2 separate regions of the Homo sapiens genome follow, and region 1 is linked to region 2. Evidence: promoter capture Hi-C in 16 types of primary human blood cells and fetal thymus (Javierre and others, 2016). All regions are on one chromosome and are shown on one strand. The core of a region is centred on a gene start or on the middle of the fragment in contact, and the rest is flanking DNA. Distances in the headings are between cores, read along the strand shown.

What was found. Contacts are between HindIII fragments. The CHiCAGO score rates a contact against its expected background, and 5 or more counts as called.
Region 1: a contact is called between a fragment that was not itself captured here and the fragment with the promoter of LMAN2 in region 2, in 6 of 17 cell types (activated CD4 T cells, non-activated CD4 T cells, total CD8 T cells and 3 more). The highest score is 9.7, in activated CD4 T cells.

Annotation. Positions count from the first base shown.
Region 1 is chr5:177,460,005-177,464,052 of GRCh38, forward strand. It overlaps DBN1 (drebrin 1), which reads right to left. Exons shown (of 15, transcript NM_001363541.2): 9 at 640-699; 10 at 428-551. Among named protein-coding and RNA genes, the nearest start is that of DBN1, 12 kb to the right of the region's middle. The HindIII fragment of the contact is 7,642 bases long and covers 1-4,048 here.
Region 2 is chr5:177,348,872-177,353,457 of GRCh38, forward strand. LMAN2 (lectin, mannose binding 2) reads right to left here and starts at 2,797. Exons shown (of 8, transcript NM_006816.3): 1 at 2,581-2,797; 2 at 2,302-2,420. The coding sequence starts at 2,776. RefSeq lists enhancers at 2,738-2,927, 2,938-2,987 and a silencer at 2,882-3,096. The HindIII fragment of the contact is 10,936 bases long and covers 203-4,586 here.

The DNA of each region.
Region 1 (4,048 bases), core at 1,483-3,982, 110 kb after region 2:
GAGCTTCAGGAGAGGCGGAAGCAGCACACTGAGAAGCGGAACGGGGACACCTGGGTGCAAGCTCCGGGAGGCTCCCTCAGGCCCGGGGCAAGAGCCCAGCACGCATGCATTCCGGCCTTCCAGGCCAGACCTAATTCACCCCAGCCGAGCTGCTCCCCGTGGCCAGCGCTGTGCCTCAGCCCATGCCAGAGCTGCCCCACAGGCCCTAGCACTCCCCACTGTTCAGCCACAAGCGACTTCACCACCATCCCTGGCCCTTCTTGGGGTCCTGCCACCTGGGAAGTGGTGGGCGGATGCACGCTGGATGAAGGGTCTCGCCTTCTCCAAGGGTTGCTTGGGCAAGGCCTCCCTTCTGAGAGAGTCCCAGAGAGGCTCAGGGCCGCAACCTGAGGAGTGGGGCCGGACGGGGGGTGGGGCCTAGGACTACCTGGTCGATGGTTGAAGGGCGAGGGTACATCACAGCTGCCCGCAGAGGCCGATGCGACTCTTTCCTGCTGCTTGAAGAACTCCCTTGGGTTGTCAGGCCGCTGGGCAATAATAGCTGCTGCCTCCTGAGGGCACGAGGAAAAGGTTGGGGCTGGGCCAGGCAAGCTGAGATAGCCCTGTCTGCCTCACCTGGCTGGTGCCCCCAGCTCTCACCTCCACCTCCGACTCTGACTTCTTCATGTGGGTCTCTTCCTCCTCATCCCGATGGTCACCCTAGAAACCAAAGGGACAGTGTCTGGTGCACCTACCCCCCACAGGGGCTTTTGGCCTTCTTTTTTACTGTATTTTATTTATTGATTTTGTTTTTAAGACAGGTTCTCGCCCTACCACCCAGGCTGGGGAGCAGTGGTACAATCACGGCTCACTGCAGCCTCTGCCTCCTGGGCTCAAGCAATCCTCCCACCTCAGCCTCCCGAGTAGCTGGGACTACAGGTGTGCACCACCATGCCCGGCTAATTTTAATTTTTTGGTAGAGATGGGGTCTCCCTATGTTGCCCAGGCTGGTCTCAAACTTCTGGGCTGAAGGGATCCTCCTGCCTTGGCCTCCCAAAGTGTTGGGATGGATTACAGTCATGAGCCACCAGTGCCCGGCCTTCTGGCCTTCTTTTTTTTTTTTTTTTTTTTTTGAGACGGAGTCTCGCTCTGTCGCCCAGGCTGGAGTGCAGTGGCGGGATCTCGGCTCACTGCAAGCTCCGCCTCCCGGGTTCACGCCATTCTCCTGCCTCAGCCTCCCAAGTAGCTGGGACTACAGGCGCCCGCCACTACGCCCGGCTAATTTTTTGTATTTTTAGTAGAGACAGGGTTTCACCGTTTTAGCCGGGATGGTCTCGATCTCCTGACCTCGTGATCCGCCCGCCTCGGCCTCCCAAAGTGCTGGGATTACAGGCGTGAGCCACCGCGCCCGGCCCCTTCTGGCCTTCTTACAGCCCCCATGCTTCTTTCGCAATCTGGCAGGAAGGGTTTCAGAGGTGGTACCTCTGCCCCGTCAAACCCTGTCACACAGCCCCTCTCTTCCCTCAGGGCCCTCAGCCACCTCATCTCTGACCTGCCAGGCCTCTGGGCACCAGGCTCACTCACTCACTTGCTCATCCCCATATCTAAGCAGGTGCCTAGGGCCCTCCAGAAGTGCTCCTTGTTTTGCAGATAACTTCTTGGACCTCCTACCCTAGTGCCGGGGCCACCATGCTCCCAATGTTGCTGCCTGGACCGTGGCATCATGGTCCAGCCTTCCTCACTGCTACCTGCCTTATTTGCTCTCCATAGGCCCTGAAAGGACCTTTCCAAAATGCGGATCAGACCATGATTTTCCTGAGCTTAAAATCCCTCAGGGGTTCCCATGAGCCACAGCAAGCACTGGCTAAATATGACCCACAGATGGCTTTTGTTTTGCTGGTATGATATTTTTAAACCATGTTCATTAGTTACCACCACTTAAAAACCAGGAACTTTCATACTGAGATGAGGGTCCCAGTTTCTCTTGAGGTGACAGAGCCCTGGCGACATCACCTGCAAGCCCGGAGCAGCCATCACCGGGGCCTCGCCGCAGCCCCCTTAAGACAGGCGTGTGCCACCCGCTCACCCCCGGCCCCACCATCGCCTACTGGCTTCACCTGCCCACTGCACACGTTGTTTTGGGTGGGCAGCGCCCGCACTTGGCCTACGTCCCCCACCCCTGCCTGACCTAGCCGTCACCTCTCCAACACCACCCCCTGCCGGCCCCCACCCCAAGGCTCCCACATACTGTGAGATGTAGACATCAAGTCCTCAGCACGACGCAGTCAGTTCCCAGAACAGGCACACCCGTTCCCACCTCCAAGCCTCAGCATGGGAGACTGGCCTCCCTCCCAAATGCCTGCTCCCCACCCGGGGGCCAGGCCCTCTGGTTTCCAGCTGCAGCGTGGCCACTGCTTCCTGGGGAAGGACCTCTGAACAAGAGGCTTGTTCAGGTCATTTCCTCCTCTGGGTCCCCACAGGGTGCTCCTGGCTTCCACCACGATGACACCACATCCTAAGTTCCTGTTTCCGGAGGCACCTCCCCCCTCCGCTGTGAGCAACGCAGGATGAGGACCGGGGTCTCCGGGTGGGTGGCCAGCACAAGGCGGGCGCATGTTTGCTCAACTGCACTCACACACCAAAGGCTTCTTAGTCGGTGTCCCCTGCTGCTCAGGTGGCAGCTTGGGCAGGAGGGGCTGCTAAGGTGGTGAAGTCCCAGGGCTGCTCTGTTTTTGAGCCTATAATCTAAAATTTTAGCTTATGTCAGGAGCACTGGGAGAAGGGCCCTTCGTAGTATCCCACCTCAGGAGGGCTATCACCTCAGTGATAACTTTGTGACCCCCAGAATGAAGTCTAAACTCCTCCTCTGCCCTTGCTCTCCTTTCCCAATCAAATCTCCCCCACTCCTCAGCCCACGGGGTTCCAGTCAGCCTAGGCTCTTCACCTTCCCATGAGCCTGTGTCCCACCAGCCTTTGCTGCTCTGCCCACTGCCTGCTGTAATCTCAGTTGGTTCCTCTGCCTTGTTCAAAGAAAGGACCAGAGGCAACTACCACAAAGGCTTTTTTTTTTTTAATCTGAGACAGAGTCTTTCACTCAGGCTGGAGTGCAGTGGCGAGATCTCGGCTCACTGCAAGCTCCGCCTCCCGGGTTCACGCCATTCTCCTGCCTCAGCCTCCCGAGTAGCTGGGACTACAGGCGCCCGCCACCACGCTCGGCTAATTTCTTGTATTTTTTAGTAGAGACGGGGTTTCACCATGTTAGCCAGGATGGTCTCGATCTCCTGACCTCATGATCCGCCTGCCTTGGCCTCCCAAAGTGCTGGGATTACAGGCATGAGCCACTGAGCCCAGCCCTCCACAAAGGCTTTAATAAACTACCAACCATGTGAACACTGAAACAAGTAAGGCCCAGAGGGAGGAGAGAGATCAACGCACTAACCACATGGGTCAAAGCCACTGCTGTGCCTAAAGCATTTTCAGATACACGGGAGCTCCCCTGCAGGCCAGGCAAAAAGGGAACTCAGATATGGAACACAATTCGTAACAGGGGAGAGAAAGCAACAGCTCCTTAAGCCAAGAGAAAGCATTTCACAGTGCTAAATCCCAAAGTCTCTCGCATATTCCCTTCCTTAGAGGACCTGAAATTGAAAGGGTACCACACTGACCTGCTAGAATGTCCACTGTCACTCTCACGTGAACTATACTTGAAGGGCCAGATGGGACTATAAAATAATGGTAAGCTCCTTCAGACTTTACCTGAAATGTTGATAACTGGTGAAAATAAATCAGCTCAGGGGGTTCACAACACTATTCTGTCTACCTGCATGTGTGTATGTTTGAAATGTTAGCAAAAAAATAAACTTTATCAGGGCTGGGTGCAGTGCACTTTGGGAGGCCGAGGTGGGAGGATCACCTGAGGTCAGGAGTTTGAGACCAGCCTGGCCAACATGGTGAAACCCTGTCTCTACTAAAAATACAAACATTAGCCGGGCATGGAGCCGTGCACCTGTAATCCCAGCTACTTGGGAGGCTGAGGCAGGAGAATCGCTTGAACCCAGGAGGCAGAGGT
Region 2 (4,586 bases), core at 1,547-4,046:
AGACTCCGTCTCAAAAAAAAAAAAAAAAAAAGTGGATATCAAATTGCAATATTTAGATTCCACTGAATGTTTAAAATACTGAACAGTTTTAGTTTAAAATGTCAATATTTAAAATATGCTGTCATCCTTTGCAAATACTTAAACCTAATGACAAACAATTTTTGATGCCAACTTTTCAAAAGGTTGCTACAACAGCAAAGAAAGCTTAAAGACCACTGCCGCAGCCTCCGCACAAGACCCCCAAAAGGACAGGGCCTGAGCAGCCTCCCCAGGTCCTATGCTGCAGCCACCAGGCACTTAAGAGTTCTAGTCAACTCTGAGCCACTCCTTCATCTAGACCACCCCCCCTGCACCACAGCAGGAGCTATTTTATGGCTGCTCAGAAGACAGCAGGTGTTCAGGGAATGTTCGCCTGAGTGCATGCCTCTCCCGGATGGAGTGAATGAAGGAGATAAAAAAGGGAAAAGTTTAGGAAGCATCTCTCCAGCTCATTAAAGGAAGAGGCAGTTCTTGGGAAACACTGAACAGAAAATTCTGATTTCCAAGCCATTTCTTTCCAGAGTTTACAGGAAGCACTCCAAATGTTTCAGGAATATCAGCAGAGCCAAATAGAAAGGTGGAGGAAGGAAGGCAAAACAATTGTACTCCAGACTGAAAATTCGATGAAGGCAAGTGCAGAAGCCTCTCAGTCCTGTGACATCCTCGAGCCACTGATGATGCCAACCATCAGCTATCTACAACCAAAATGTAAGCCACTGTCTTAGATGCGTCTATTACTTGTGGCTACTCCTGATTTCTACAGTTCCAGCACTGTTTGCACCTTGCTTTCAAAAAATAATAATAATGCTATACTGAACTCATTTCCATGAAAAATATAAGGCTGAATTATCATTTCTTTAAAATATCTGAAAGCCCTAAGACAGAATGTGACAGAATGTGACTCGGGGGAGATAGGGTGGTTAATGAAGAAATGTCTGCGTGGGTGGCACTTGAATTGAGACTTAACAGATGAGAAGGAACCAAGCAGGCATGAGGAGCCAGGAGGCAGTGTCCCAGACAGAGGGAACAACAGGTGCAAAGGTCCTGAGGCAAGAAGGCAGCCAGGGGGGGCTGGAACAAAATTAACACAGAGAATGACTGGAGATGCACAAGGGGCCAGATTGTGCAGACATAATGCATGCTTACCCCTTCACAGGGGACTCCACGCTCTGAGGATCAGACTGAAAGCTGAAGAAAGTATCCGCAGATGCCACTAACAGCAGTGTGGAGGCTCGGGGCAGGAAGGAGAGGAGGAGCAGAGGGGACGGGCAGACCAGGCAACACAAGGACAGTGTGGGTTCCCAGAACTAAACAAGAAAGTCAACCAGCAGGGATCAGAGAGCAGGGTGATGGAGAAAACTAGAACACTGGCCAACAGCTTAAGCCATGGGAAGGGCTGAGATTAGGCAAGCTGGGGCAGGAGCAGGTCCCGCTCCAAGCTGTAACCCAGCCCCAAATTATTCTTCTTTCCCCTTTTTCCTCACCTTGACTGCCTCAGTGTGGATTCTGTGTAGCAGCTGTCATTGGCCACTGCTCACATACTACATACTACATACTCTGAGGCAAAGGTCACAGACACTAGAACTGCCCACAGGTCCAGTCCCTCCACACTACTGATGACAAGACCCTCAACCAAGCATTGCAAAAAGGGTTCTAAGGGGTTCCTCCACTGTCCAGGTGAAAAGAGTCAAGTACATCGAGTGAACTGCTGGGCTTAGAGATCAGACAAATCAGAGTTTAAATACTGTTTATGACATTTGCTAGCTGGGTTATCTTTGTATAGTCATGAAAGCCATCTATTTCAAACAGCTTGTTTGAAAATTAAATGCAATAAGGCATGGCAAGGTCAGTGCCTAATACACAGCAAAACACCCAATAAAGATCCAGTTCGCTCGGTTCTTCCCATTACTGAGGGGGTTCAAGGCAGACAGCCTGACAGTTCCACTACTTTCTGGCTATGTAACTTTGGGTAAGGCCCTTTCAAACCTGAGTCTTAGCTTCTCAGTGGGTAAAATGGAGATAACATTACTCATCTCGCATGGCTTTTAAAGTGAGGAGGATGTAAAGTGTCAAGCGCAGCTCCTGACACATAGTAAGTACCCAATACCCATCGCCTCTTATTATTGGTGGGTGTGACCGAGATGAGGAAAAGGCCAGGGACGGAGGTGCAAACCTATAAACGAAGCTGGGGTCTCAGCTGCTCGGGAGGCAGGGACTAGCAGCCAACCGCACAGTACGCCTATCCTCTTGAGAACCACTCACCTGGTGGTTCCAGATAGAGCCCTCTTTGCTGCGCTCGTCAGGGGTCAGACGTACGTACTGGCTCGTGAGCATAGTGCTGCCCTGGAAGTCCCAGAGGGGCATAGAGCTGGAACCGACCCCTGTGGGAAGAGACAGGTGCTAAGAGGCCACGCCAGGACTGGCCTCACCAGAGGCAGGAAACCCACAGAGATGCTCTGCTCAGGAGAAAGGGCACGCCTTCCCCTAGCCCTGTTCAGCCTCGCCCTCACTCTTCACTCATTCCCGCCCCAAGGGCTTCACCTTGGTAGGGCTTAATGAGCGAATGCTCCCGCTTGAGATGTTCACTGTTGCCGTCAGTTATATCCGCAGTCACAGACCCCAACAACAAAAGAAGAAAGAGAGGTGTAGTGGGGCCAGGGCCGGGGCCGAGAAGCCCAGGCCTTCCCAGGCACCGCCGGCCCCAGCCCCAACGCCAAATCCAGCCTTCCGCCGCCATTCTCCTCTCCTCTCGGCCACTTCCGCCCTAGAACTTCCGCCTTCCGGGGGTCCCATCTATTGGCCTCCGGCCGGAAGCTCTTCAACTTTACTGTCGCCAGGGAGTCAAAAAGCAAAGCCTCCGCAGCAGACGGGGCGGCAGCTGCATTGGCCGGGCAGCCTCTCATCCTGGTTGAGTGCAGTTTCATCTCCTTAGAGGCTCCAAGGCACACGCCGGCCAGCCCCAGCAATGGGTTCTTTCGAGCGACAAGAGCTGTAACCAGTCACGGAACAGCACGTTAGGCTTGCGAGCCAATGAGGAGCAGAGGGATGGTTGGAGCCGGCGGGAGCGCGAGGGCCGTCCGCGACTCGGGGCATGCTGGAATTTGTAGTTTTTGTCGGTCGCTCTAATGGGGCGGATTCGCGAAGACTAGGACGTCTTGGGCTTCTGGCCGCAAGTCCCGTCTCTGGAATAACCTTTTCTAGTCCTGGAGAAAGGAGCTCTGAATTGAAGGCGGAGTCCTGCATTCCAACCCTTGTCCTCCCCGGGTGGCCCTGGGCAAGCCTTTAAGCCGTGCCTGCCGTCAGGCGCCCCAGCTTCGCGCCTTTGGAGACTCAGAATTCCCAATTATTTGAGGGCCTCCACTACCCTCAACTCCTCAGGCCTAGTCGGGTTGAAGCAAGAGGAACAGACACAGATCCTGGCCTGGGACCCCAGTGATGACTGGAACTCATCCCTATGCAAAAGAGCGCAGTGCCTGGTACAGCAAGTAACGTCCATGGAAGGCCCAGGAAAGCTGTGAATCAGAGGTCGAAAACTGGTGGCCTGCAGCTGAATAGAGCTCTGTTTTACCTGCCAATATTCTAATAAATGGCTTAACTACCAGTATTTTAAAGTCAGAATATAGAGGCTGGGCGTGGTGGCTCACGCCTGTAATCCCAGCACTTTGGGAGGCTGAGGCCGGCGGATCACGAGATCGGGAGATCGAGACCATCCTGGCTAGCACGGTGAAACCCCGTCTCTACTAAAAAATACAAAAAATTAGCCGGGCGTGGTGGCAGGTGTCTGTAGTCCCAGCTACTCGGGAGGCTGAGCCAGGAGAATGGCTTGAACCCAGGAGGCAGAGCTTGCAGTGAGCCGAAATCGCGTCACTGCACTCCAGCCTGGGCGACAGAGCGAGACTCTGTCACACACACACACACACACACACACACACACACACACACACACAAAGTCGGAATATGTACATTCACATCAGAAATCCAGACTTCCGGCTGAGCTCAGTGGCTGAGGCCTGTAATCCTAGCACTTTGGGAGGCAGAGGCGAGCAGATTACCTGAGCTCAGGAGTTTCAGACCAGCCTGGGCAACACGGTGAAACCCCGTCTCTACTAAAATACAAAAGAAATTAACGGCGTGGTGGCGGACACCTGTAGTCCCAGCTACTCGGGAGGCTGAGGCAGGAGAATTGCTTGAACCCAGGAGGCAGAGGTTGCAGTGAGCAGAGATCACGCCATTGCATTCCAGCCGGGGCGACAGAGCAAGACTCTGTCTCTACAAAAAAAAAAAAAAAGAAGAAGAAGAAGAAGAAAAGAAATCCAGACTTCCGTTTTTTTACCCAAAAAAAAAAAAAAAGAAGCAGCAGCAAAAGATCTAGGCACACATTCCCACAACAGAACAATAGGCTGGAGCTGAATGGGACTGCCCCTCCACCAATGCCTTCCTCTTCTAAGCTGGTCCCCACCTGGTCACTCGTTTACAGCACTTGCCTGGCTCCTCCAGACATTTGAATCAATGACTCCTGTTGTAGATCACAGGGAGGGATGTTGGTT